Linked DNA regions of Homo sapiens: regions 1, 2 and 3 are each linked to region 4. The links are contacts of gene promoters, found by promoter capture Hi-C in blood cells and fetal thymus (Javierre and others, 2016). All regions are on one chromosome and are shown on one strand. Each heading gives the region's core, a stretch centred on a gene start or on the middle of the fragment in contact. The rest is flanking DNA. Distances are from core to core; before and after follow the strand shown. Region 1 has its middle 14 kb from the start of KRT85. Region 2 holds the start of KRT6B (keratin 6B). Region 3 holds the start of KRT6A (keratin 6A). Region 4 holds the start of KRT4 (keratin 4).

What was found. The method cuts DNA at HindIII sites, captures the fragments that hold promoters and counts their contacts. A CHiCAGO score of 5 or more calls a contact.
Region 1: a contact is called between a fragment that was not itself captured here and the fragment with the promoter of KRT4 in region 4, in 1 of 17 cell types (endothelial precursors). The highest score is 6.7, in endothelial precursors.
Region 2: the fragment with the promoter of KRT6B here is called in contact with the fragment with the promoter of KRT4 in region 4 in 13 of 17 cell types (endothelial precursors, total CD8 T cells, total CD4 T cells and 10 more); the score reaches 11.3 in endothelial precursors.
Region 3: a contact is called between the fragment with the promoter of KRT6A here and the fragment with the promoter of KRT4 in region 4, in 7 of 17 cell types (activated CD4 T cells, total CD4 T cells, naive CD8 T cells and 4 more). The highest score is 7.3, in activated CD4 T cells.

Annotation. Positions count from the first base shown.
Region 1 is chr12:52,352,542-52,355,241 of GRCh38, forward strand. It overlaps the pseudogene KRT89P. Among named protein-coding and RNA genes, the nearest start is that of KRT85, 14 kb to the right of the region's middle. The HindIII fragment of the contact is 2,155 bases long and covers 214-2,368 here.
Region 2 is chr12:52,450,729-52,453,528 of GRCh38, forward strand. It overlaps KRT6B (keratin 6B), which reads right to left and starts at 1,418. Exons shown (of 9, transcript NM_005555.4): 1 at 811-1,418. The coding sequence starts at 1,350. The HindIII fragment of the contact is 8,192 bases long and covers 1-2,401 here.
Region 3 is chr12:52,491,871-52,494,570 of GRCh38, forward strand. It overlaps KRT6A (keratin 6A), which reads right to left and starts at 1,387. Exons shown (of 9, transcript NM_005554.4): 1 at 779-1,387. The coding sequence starts at 1,318. The HindIII fragment of the contact is 6,361 bases long and covers 1-2,700 here.
Region 4 is chr12:52,812,693-52,815,499 of GRCh38, forward strand. It overlaps KRT4 (keratin 4), which reads right to left and starts at 1,424. Exons shown (of 9, transcript NM_002272.4): 1 at 905-1,424. The coding sequence starts at 1,366. RefSeq lists a silencer at 129-329 and an enhancer at 495-996. The HindIII fragment of the contact is 5,472 bases long and covers 1-2,807 here.

The DNA.
Region 1 (2,700 bases), core at 41-2,540, 460 kb before region 4:
ATTGAGGCACAGAAAGGTTAAGCGACCTGCCCAAGATCACCCAGCTAGTAAGCCGCACAGCCAGATTTAAGTCCAGGCAGCCTGGCTTGAGAGTCCAGGCTCTTAACCACACCATACTCTTCAGCCTCCCTCTGCATTGAATGAAATCAGATAGATGTCTGGGGTACCATTTAAAATCATGGTATAAAAATGAATCTGTTTGAGTAATAGGCAAGCTTTTTCCTGCTCAGAGACGTCTAGCTAGGTAGCAGCAGCTTCCATCACCACTTTGGCTTTGCTGGCATTTCCAGCCAAGGGACCAGGAGGATGCCCCCCTCATCTCTACTTCCCAGTTCACCAAATTTCCATGGCTGAAAGCCAAACATGGCATAAAGTGGCATTTTGGATCCTGTAAGCTAACATACTCCTGTCCTTTTGGGATCCCAGCAAGCAGGACCAACACTGATGCTGTCTGCAGCAGGTGGGTAGCTTCCCCCTGCCTCTTAGGGCCCTTCTTCTCCTTCAGCATGGAGGAGAATAGGTTTGGTGCAAAAGCAGAGGAACTCAGCACTAACCGTACACTCTCTCCTCTCCCTGCAGGCTGTGTGAAGGCGTGGGCTCAGTCAATATCTGTAAGTTGGGTGTGTGTGGGCATGGCTTTCTGGGGTTTCAGCAATCTTAGTATTAGATTGCATCTAACTGATGACCAAGCCTCTGTCTATGGAGTGGTAGACAAGGGACTCCTGAGCTGATGTCTCTGGGATCCAGACAAACTGATGACCTCAAATATTTGACCATACATGGATCCATCTGGAACACCCATGAAGTCTAAGTTAATGAATGGTGCAAATTCTGAACCCCTATTTGGTTCTGCAAAAATAGCTTAAGCCTTTTAGTTACACACAGAATACTACTCAAGTGGTAGCATGTTCTAGTAAGAAAAAAAGCTAGGTTTATATTCTGATCATGTGGGTCTCTGCAGGCAACTTGTAAATCTCTATCTAATAATCCAATGTACACACAGCCCCTGGGCCAGGTGTCTGATTCCCATCCCTCCATTCCCCTCACCTCTCTAGCAACCATATTTCTAGATGACTCCTCTAGTGTGATCTATCAGTTTTTGCTCAAAGATTGTATGAACATGTCTCAACATCAGCCTGGTCCAAGTAGAGTTTGGTGTGCAATTTGCTAACCACACTCCTGAAGAAGCAGATGGCAGTGGGTTCAGGTTTGCCTGTAGTTTAAAAAGACTCATGTTGCTGGTCCCTCAGAGAAGGAAGATAATTAATCATTGGTTCTAAAGGATTCTGGGTCATAACATGTCTGAGATGGAAGAGAATTCTGACCTGTGTCTCTGTCCACATGTGTGAGCCATTCCCAGGGTGGTGTGGTCTGCGGGGACCTGGACTCCACTGCCTCCTGTGGCTCAGGGGGTGTGGCCATCAGCAGTGGTGCACTGTGTTGCCCCTCTGCAGTGGGGGCCTGCTCCAGTGCCCAATCTGTGCGGTTTGCATAGAGGGGGTGGGACTCTGGACGGACCTGTTCTGATGGGGGCAGTGTGGGTTGGGGAGTGGAAATCTTTTCTCTTGCATGACCAAATGTCAGTTTAGTAATTTCCCCTTACAGAGAACCCAGAACTAACTCTCCTGTTTCCTTCTTATTGGAGTTAACAATTTACTTTCTCTGTGTAAACCCTGGGTTTGACATTATTTTCACTTCCATTGCTTCTCCCCTTCCCTGTGGTTCAGGAATGAAATAGAAAGGCTTTTTTTTGAATGAATTTCTCGGTCATTGTCTTCCCCAATTAACTTCAGGCCAGCAGATGTTAAATTAAGTCCTGACTGTGTGCCAGATCCTCTTGGAACGGAGCCAGCTAGAGGGTGTGGAGTATGTGGGAACATCTCTGCGCTTTGCCCTCGGATGACAGGGGCTCCAGATGCTGCCTCAGCATGGAAGGGTGGTGTGGGTGTGGAGCTGGGCTCCTCACTTGCTCTGAGAGATTGTATATTCCCAGAGTCCCCCAACTATTCATATGTCCAGATTGAAAGACTGACGGAGGCTAATCAGCTGGGTTTATACTGTTTGTTGCCTGGAAGTTCATTGTATTTGCATGATTCCTGTATGGTTCCTTCTTTCTTTTGGTGTGCTTGATTAAATATCAATGGCGAAAGGCTTTTTCTTAGTAACCAAGTTAATGCCTGCCTCCTTCATTGTCTTCCCAACCCACCCAAAGCCCTGACTGTCTTGGTGCATCTCACAATGTGGTCCACCGACCACCACCTGCATCAGAATCCCTGTGGGGTAGTTGCTAAATGTGCAGATCCTGGGCTCCATCTGGAACTCTCAATCAAAAGTTCTAGGGATGAGCCCAGGAATCTGTATTTTAAGAAGCTTCCAGGTGATTCCTAGAAGAACTAAAGCTTGAGAACCACAGGTTGATGTGGGTAGAGGGAAGAGGAGGGTCGGATAATTCTGGCCATGGAAGTGACTGTCCCTCTGATTCTCACTGGATCGGTCTAGCCCCTTTGCATTTCTCCTTTGTCTGCGGCTAAAAGGTCAGAGCCATGGTCTGGGCCACACACACACCAGGGCAAGGTGGGGGCAAAGGTACAAAAGGGGTGAGGAAGGGAGCCTGTATTTGTTAAACACCTGCTAGGTGTCTGGCACATTATATATGTATTTCATTAATTTCTCACAGCAACCAGAATATTATCCTCATTT
Region 2 (2,800 bases), core at 168-2,667, 360 kb before region 4:
AGTGCATGTAGAGAGGCTCAGGCTGAGCTCTGCTCCCCCAACTCCTTCTCCTTTGCACCCCACCAGTCTCACTAGAGAAATTGTCCCACGGACCACTGAGGTGTTCTCGCACTGTAAGCTATTGATCATCAGTGAGTTTCAACATTTCTTCTTTTCTTTTTCCAAGCACAATCACAAATCTAGTTTAAAAATACTAATTACCTGATATATTGTACACAGTTTTTTTTACCGAGAGGATCTTAGTTAGGAGGGATATTAGATGTTGACTCATGATTACATTTCAGTCTACTTTCCCATTTAGTGTCTCCTCTCAAATATTCTGATGTTATGGTCATTCTCTGTTTTTAAAATTAATTAGCATTTATCCATGTTTTACAGTTGTTTCTATGTCCCTTTTTTTCTTAATCCAGCCAGATTATCTTTTCCTTTTCTTTCTAAATCTTTTTCCTCTTACCCAGACCCCAGAGTGTAATTTACCAGCCCATATACTCCTGGCATTTGCTTTGTAATCTCTTAAACACTTCAGAGGGGAGAATTAACCTACTCCACTCTCTGATGGCCTCATCTGTGCTTCAGGGTTATGAAAAGTTATGGCTCTCCCTAGGCAGGAGTGAGGGCCACTCCAGATATCCCATGGGGGAGTGATGCCCATCTGTGCTGCCTCCTGTGCACCGAGAGCCACCTGCACTCTCTGCAGAGCTGGGCTGAGTCCCCTTCTCCCTCCCTCCTAGGGTCTCTCCGGCAGGAAGGTGTTGCTCTTCTGGTCTGGGGACCCTGAAGTGCCCGATGGAGGGCATGGCACTGGCTCACCTTGTCGATGAAGGAGGCAAACTTGTTGTTGAGGGTCTTGATCTGCTCACGCTCCTCGGCCCGCACCCGCTGGATGGCGGGGTCAATTTGCAGGTTGAGGGGAGTCAGGAGACTCTGGTTGACAGTGACCTCTTGGATGCCTCCAGGGGGGCACACAGGGAAGCCAGGGCCCCCAAAGCCACCAGCAAGGCCGGCTCCACCACCCAGACCAAAGCCAATGCCGGCTCCACCACCGAAACCAAATCCACTCCCGGCGCCACCAAAGCCATAGCTGCCTCCGGCTCTGCTGCCATAGCCGCCACTGATGGCACAGCTGCCCCCTCCAATGGAGATCCTCTTGGAGCCCCCCAGGCCATACAGACTGCGGCTGCCAAAGCCAGCTCCTCCACATGCGCCACCCAGGCCACCACTGCCCCTGGAGCGGGACACGGAGATGCTGCTGAAGCCAGAGCGGCTGACCCCAGGGAGCCTGGCTGAGTTGGCACTGAAACCCCGGCGGCTGCTGCTGTGGCTCCTGATGGTGGTGGATGTGCTGGCCATGGTTCCAGGAGATGAGAGGGCTTAGGAGAGTGTGAGAGGCTGGAGGCGAGAGGGAGGAGAAGCAGGACGAGGAATCGGACTCCAGTAGCAGCTTATATATGGAGAGCATGGGCTGGGCCCAGTCCTGGAAGGTGAGCTTGCAGGTTGGGAAGGGCTGGGCTTTACAAATAGTGAGATCACACCTGCATTATTACAAAAGTTATGAAATACCGAGATTGCATTTTTCGCTTCCTTTAGTCAGGCAAAATGTTCCTGCCTCCAGCTTTGACTTGAGATCTCAGCACAATAAGAGTATTCTCAATTCATGAAGTTGGAATTAGTCACTGTCTTCAGCAAAGGTTCTGCATGCTAGGCTGTTTATCGACATGCCCTGAGTGCCCTCCTCTTCCCAGTCTGACTTTCTTCCAGCCTTGCTGTTGGAGATCACAGGCACTGTATTGTGAATTCCTTAACAGAAATATTACAATTTCCCCATAATTGTTTCACCTTTTAGGTGCAATTTTAAACAGGTAGAGAAGCAGAACACTGCAATGGGCCTGTATATACCTGTCACCTGCTTCCATGATGATCATCTCATGGCCAGCCTGATTTCTTTCATACTTCAACCCTATTTCCTCTTCCATTCTAGATTGTTTGAAAGGAAATTCCAGAAGTCATATTATGTCTTCAATCAATAATTCAATATTAATATCTAAATAATAGGTCCTTTAAAAAATCAAAACACTATTTTTATATCTTAAAAATTTACATACTAATTAAAATGAACAAGTGTCTATTTAGTCTTCAAGCAGTCCTATTTTTGATATATATTTCTTATATTTTGGTGTCCCAATCAGAGTCAAAATAAGCTCTATAAACGTTGTATTTGAGTGATATATCCTTTAAATCATTGAAATTTAAAAATCTCCCTTCATTTCTTACTTTTATTTGTTAAATAAAACAGGTTAACTGTTCATTGTACTTTTTCATTCTTGGGATTTTTCTAATTGCATACCCCTATTGTTTCCTTTAATATGAGACTCTAACCTTCATATTTCATATTAAAATTAGAAGCTTATTAAGATTCTGTCTATATTTAAACATTCTAGAAGTAAATGTAGTAGATTGCCCATTTAAATTTTGAATAGTACTATTTGCACAATTATTTACATGTTTACAAATTGAATACATGATACATGTTTTAAAAAATTTTTTGTAAAACATGCTAAACAACAAAATAATATAGCTCAAGGCCATTCCCCAGTTACCCAATTCCTATCTATGGAGGAAGTAATGTTAGCAGTTCCTTGTGTATCCTTGTATCTTTACTTGGATATTTTCCTGTGCTTTTCCTGGGCCATGGGTGACATGTCTGTGCATATGTGTTTGTGTCAACGTGTGTTTGTATGGGTGAGGAAGAGGTGGAGGGAGTTGGCATATATAGAGAGGGAGCCTGCATTGTAGAAAGGTA
Region 3 (2,700 bases), core at 137-2,636, 320 kb before region 4:
AGCTCTGCTCCCCCAACCCCTTCTCCTTTGTACCCCACCAATCTCACTAGAGGAATTGTCCCACGGACCATTCAGGTGTTCTCACTCTCTAAGTTATTGGACATATTAATGAGTTTCAACATGTCTTTTCCTTCTTTTCCCAGCCAAAATTACAAACATAGTTATAAAATAGTATTCATCTGATAAATTTTACACAGTTTTTATTACTGATAGGACCTCAGTTAGAAGAGATGTTAAATGTTGCCCAATGATTTGATTCCCGTCTTATTTCCCATTTGTGCAAGTCTCTCCTCTAAAACATCCTGATGTTATGGTCATTCTTTGTTTTGAGGATTAATTAACATTTCCACATAACGTATAAACGTTTTAAGTCTTTTTTTTCTTAATCTAGCCAAAATATCCTTTCTTTTGTTTCCAATATTTTTTCCTCTTATCCAGACCCCAGAGTGTAATTTACCAGCCCGTGTACTCCTGGCATTTTCTTTGACGCTTCAAAGGGAAGAGTTAACCTACTCCATTCTCTGATGGCCTCATCTGTGCTTCAGGGTTATGAAAAGTTATGGTTCTCCCTAGGCAGGAGTGAGGGCCACTCCAGAGATCCCATGGGGGAGTGATGCCCATCCCTGCTGCTTGCTGGGCACCAGCAGCCATCTGCACTCTCTGCAGAGCTGGGCTGAGTCCTCTTCTCCCTCCCTCCTAGGTCTCCCTGGCAGGAAGGTGTTGCTCCTCTGGTCTGGGGACCCTGAAGTGCCCCATGGAGGGCATGGCACTGGCTCACCTTGTCGATGAAGGAGGCAAACTTGTTGTTGAGGGTCTTGATCTGTTCACGCTCCTCAGCCCGCACCCGCTGGATGGTGGGATCGATTTGCAGGTTGAGGGGAGTCAGGAGACTCTGGTTGACGGTGACCTCTTGGATGCCTCCAGGGGGGCACACAGGGAAGCCAGGGCCCCCAAAGCCACCAGCAAGGCCGGCTCCACCACCCAGACCAAAGCCAATGCCGGCTCCACCACCGAAACCAAATCCACTCCCGGCGCCACCAAAGCCATAGCTGCCTCCGGCTCTGCTGCCATAGCCGCCACTGATGGCACAGCTGCCCCCTCCAATGGAGATCCTCTTGGAGCCCCCCAGGCCATACAGACTGCGGCTGCCAAAGCCAGCTCCTCCACATGCACCACCCAGGCCACCACTGCCCCTGGAGCGGGACACGGAGACGCTGCTGAAGCCAGAGCGGCTGACCCCAGGGAGCCTGGCTGAGTTGGCACTGAAACCCCGGCGGCTGCTGCTGTGGCTCCTGATGGTGGTGGATGTGCTGGCCATGGTTCCAGGAGATGAGAGAGCTGAGGAGAGTGTGAGAGGCTGGAGGAGAGAGGGAAGAGAAGCAGGACTAGGAATCAGGCTCGGGGCAGCAGCTTATATATGGAGAGCATGGGCTGGGCCCAGTCCTGGAAGGTGAGCTTGCAGGTTGGGAAGGGCTGGGCTTTACCAACAGTGAGATCACACCCAGTTTCTAGAAAGGTATGAAATATGAAGATTGCTTTTTGGCTTCCTTTAGTCATAGAGAAATTCTCCTGCCTTCCAGCCTTGACTTGATCCTAACACAATAAGCCCGGGTATACATTCACTGAAGTCATGAGTTAGTCATGTCCTCAAACAAAGGAGACAAGGAGCTGATCTGTGATAATTGTCCCCTCCTTCTTCTTCATCAGACACTCCCTGTGTGCCCCCTTCCCACACAGGTTTTCTACTCCACTTGCACCAGCCTCACCCTCTGAGTGGGATCCTTCCTGAGGGCGTATGGGCATTTGCCCGATGGCCTGAGCAAGAAGTAGCCTGTTGTGTTTTTTCCACTGCATTTGGACCAGTTCTTCTGGAGCTCCTGGCTGTCCTCCCTTGTGTCCTGGACATAGGAACGGGGTCTGCTTTGGGGATCTAACCCTCCTTTGTCAGGCAAGAGGGACAGAGGAGTTGAGTCTTTACACTGTAGGAGCAACATTTGTTCTGTGTACTGTGTGATCACCTGCCCACATGCCGTTTACCTAAAATGAAGGGAGCAGACATTGCCCAGGGTGCTCAGAGACCTGACTTCTGCCAGGAGTTTCTTTCCATATCTGCACCTCTCTCTCCAGTGCTTGCTTTCCTATTGAGCTTAGTCTCATGTAAATCTGCCTTTCCAGTTGAAATTTATAGACACCTTCTCCCTGCTGTTTTGGAGCATTTACATAGAGCTTAATTTAAACAACGGAAAATGAGTGATATAAAAATCATTAAGGAATTCACTGGATTTTTATTCCCACAGATTTTGACATTTCTTAAGAATCAAGAGTCAGACAGTTTAATTGGGTGTGTAGGGAAAGTCAAGGGGCATATGGAAGCTGTGAATCATAAAATTGTGCCCTTACAAGTGTGATGATGTAACATGTCAATTCCACATTTTAATTTCTGATCTCAGTGCTTGAAATCTCAAATCCATATACACCTTCTGGGAGGGTGGGCAGGCTGACAAAGGTGAGTGTGCTTGGTTTACAGAGGAATGAGCTTCACTTCTCCAGTCCATGCATTAAGCACTGTGCATGAGGAGAATGGAGAGCAATCCTGGGCAATATTGTTCTGTGAGAACCTATGGATAAATGAGCAACCGCAGGAGGAAGAACAAACTCCCATGCTAAGAAGAGCCTCAGGAAAGCTCTTGTTACTATTTT
Region 4 (2,807 bases), core at 174-2,673:
CAAAGAGCCCTGAGTTTTTGCTATCACATCTGCATGTCCTATAGTCACAGTAAAACCTCTTTAAGTTACTATGGGTTTATTCAAACTAGCAAGAAGAACAAATATGCACCTTATTCTATTCCAAAAGTGTTCATTCTTGCCCCATATGTCGAAGCTGCCCAAGACTTTGATGCCTGGTGAACCAGGGCAACCTGGACCAAAGGGAGGCACTCATCCACCCAGTCATCAATCTTTGGATGACTCGGCTCTCTGGGGCTGCACTGCTCACTATCATCCATCATGCATGACCATAACTGAGCTTAAAGAACTTGAACTTCTAGACGTTGCATGAAAAAGGAAGTTGGGCTACAAAAAGAAAAGAGACCTGTCTCCTTTCTTCAAACAGACCCAGACATGAGCAGTGTTGTCCAGTCAAAGGAATGAAAAAAGTAAATTTCCAAGGCCTTGGTGAGACCTAGAATCTGCCACTGGAGCCAGTCCCTTTTTCATTTGCAAAATCAGCTTAGTTGTCTTCTGTTCTAAGAACAGAAGTGGCCACTGTTAAGTGATTAATGGGGTTAACTGCATTATATTCAAAACCAAAATCTGAGAAAAAGCAGAGAAATAATGAACCCCCTTTATAGCTGGGATGACTAGAGCCAGAAAAGCCAAATGATTTGTCCAGTATCCCACAGCCTGTCTAGGGAATTCCAAACACTTAACTGCCTTGAGCATCCCACCTTCCCACCAGCCACGGGACAAAAAGGAAGGCTCAAAGTCATGATGCCCCTTCAACAGCTGGAGAATTGGGGCCCAGGGAAGTTCAGTGGTCTCCCCAGCACCTGTGGCAGGCTCAGGTCTGAGACCCCAGGACTCAGGACCCCTCTCTTCTAACTGCCCCTCTCCAGCCGAGGACACAGCTCACCTTGTCGATGAAGGAGGCAAACTTGTTGTTGAGGAGCTTGATCTGTTCGCGCTCTTCCGTCCGGACTTTCTGGATCTCAGGGTCAATCTCCACGTGGAGGGGGGTGAGCAAGCTCTGGTTGATGGTGACCTCCTGAATTCCCCCAGCGGGGCAGACGGGGAAGCCAGGGCCACCCTTACCACTGAAGGAGCCCCCAAATCCACCACCAAAGCCACCAGTGCCAAAGCCTCCAGCACCCCCAAAGCAGGCACCTTGTCGTGACCCAGCCACACTCATGGAGATGCTTTTGTTCCCCCTGAGGTTGTAGAGGCTTCTGCTGCCAAATCCCCCAGAAGAGCATCGGCCAGCACCTCCAGACATGGAGACTGAGCTGAAGGCACCTCTCTTGCCACCGCCTACAATGGCCGAGCCACAGCTGAAGCCCCGGGGCCCGCCTCGGACACACTGCTGTCTGGCAATCATGGCTGCAGAGAGCGAGCTGGGAGCTATCAGAGAAGTGACAGGGCCCAGGCCGGTGAGTGCTGGAGCCCTCAGCCTTCGTCTCTTATATGTCCTGGAGCAGCAGGGCTTGGTTGCAGGGGCATAAAGGGAAAAATCTGAAACATCTCTGGGCTTGGCCCTTGGCACAAGCCCATCCTTCCCGCACCCGTTGAGCATGTCACTAAACACACCTACAGAAGTCATCTGGAGGGCACAGGTTACTGGATCCCATCACACTACTCTCTGGGAGAACCTGAACTGGTGCCCCAGGGCTTCCTAATCAGAAGCCCCTGCCTGGGCCCAGCGCTCCAGGCCCACACCCACTGTACCTCCATCTCGCTAGGCTCACAGCACCTCCCTCCTCCAGAAAAGACACCCCATCACCCATCCTCTCACCCCACAGAATGTGGAGTTAGACAGCCTGAGTTTGAGCGCACAGCCTGCCACCTCCTAGCTCTGCAAACCGGAGCAAGTCACCCTCTGAGGCCCAGTTGCTTTCCCTGTAAATTGGAAGTAATACAAATATTTGCCTTGCCACTTCTCAGGATAGAGTGAGCTAGTGATTAATGGAGTGCTCTGTAAACTGTCAAAAGCCACATGTATATTTGTCATTCTTAGCATTCTTATTCCTCCACATGTTCTTGGCTCCATGTACCTATAAAAAGGGGAAATATTCTGTATTCCAGCCTTAGCCTTCCAACCTAGATCCAGATTCACTTCAACTTGGCCAACAGCTACTGAGAAACTGCCAGGCATGGAGCTAGGTACTAAGGAGATGGGGGAAGACAAAACACCTCCCCAAAGAAAACCGTGACTGTCTTTCTCAGCCCTGGGTACCCATGCTGCCCCGCAGGCCTCCCTTCAATCTGTGCTTGCACAATTCTAGATGGGCGTTCTCCAGCGGGGTCTGGTGGTGTGCACTCTGCTGCTCCATTTGCTGTCCAGTTGTTTGCTAGGTGTGTTCTGGTTTTCTGTAATGGTGCAGAATTCAGGGCAGGAGTTCATAACTTTTTTGCTGCTGGGGATCCCTTTGGCAGAATGATGAAACCTATGGATCCCTTCTCAGAGCAATGTTTTTAAATGCAAAATCCTAGTTTTAAGCCATAACTTAAATTCTTCCCAACTGAACAGTAACAGATCTGTGTTCAAATCCCTCCTGTTGCCACTAACTAGCTGTATAACCTTGGGTGGGCCAACTAAGCACTCTAAACCCATCCAATATGGTTTGGCTCTGTGTCCCCACCCAAATCTCATCTTGAATTGTACTCCCATATTTCCCACACATTGTGGGAGGGCCCCGGTGGGAGATGATTGAATTATGGGGGCGGTTTCCCCCATACTGTTCTTGTGGTAGTGAATAAGTCTCACGAGATCTGATGTTTAATAAGGAAAAACCCATTTTGCTTGGCTTTCATTCTCTCTC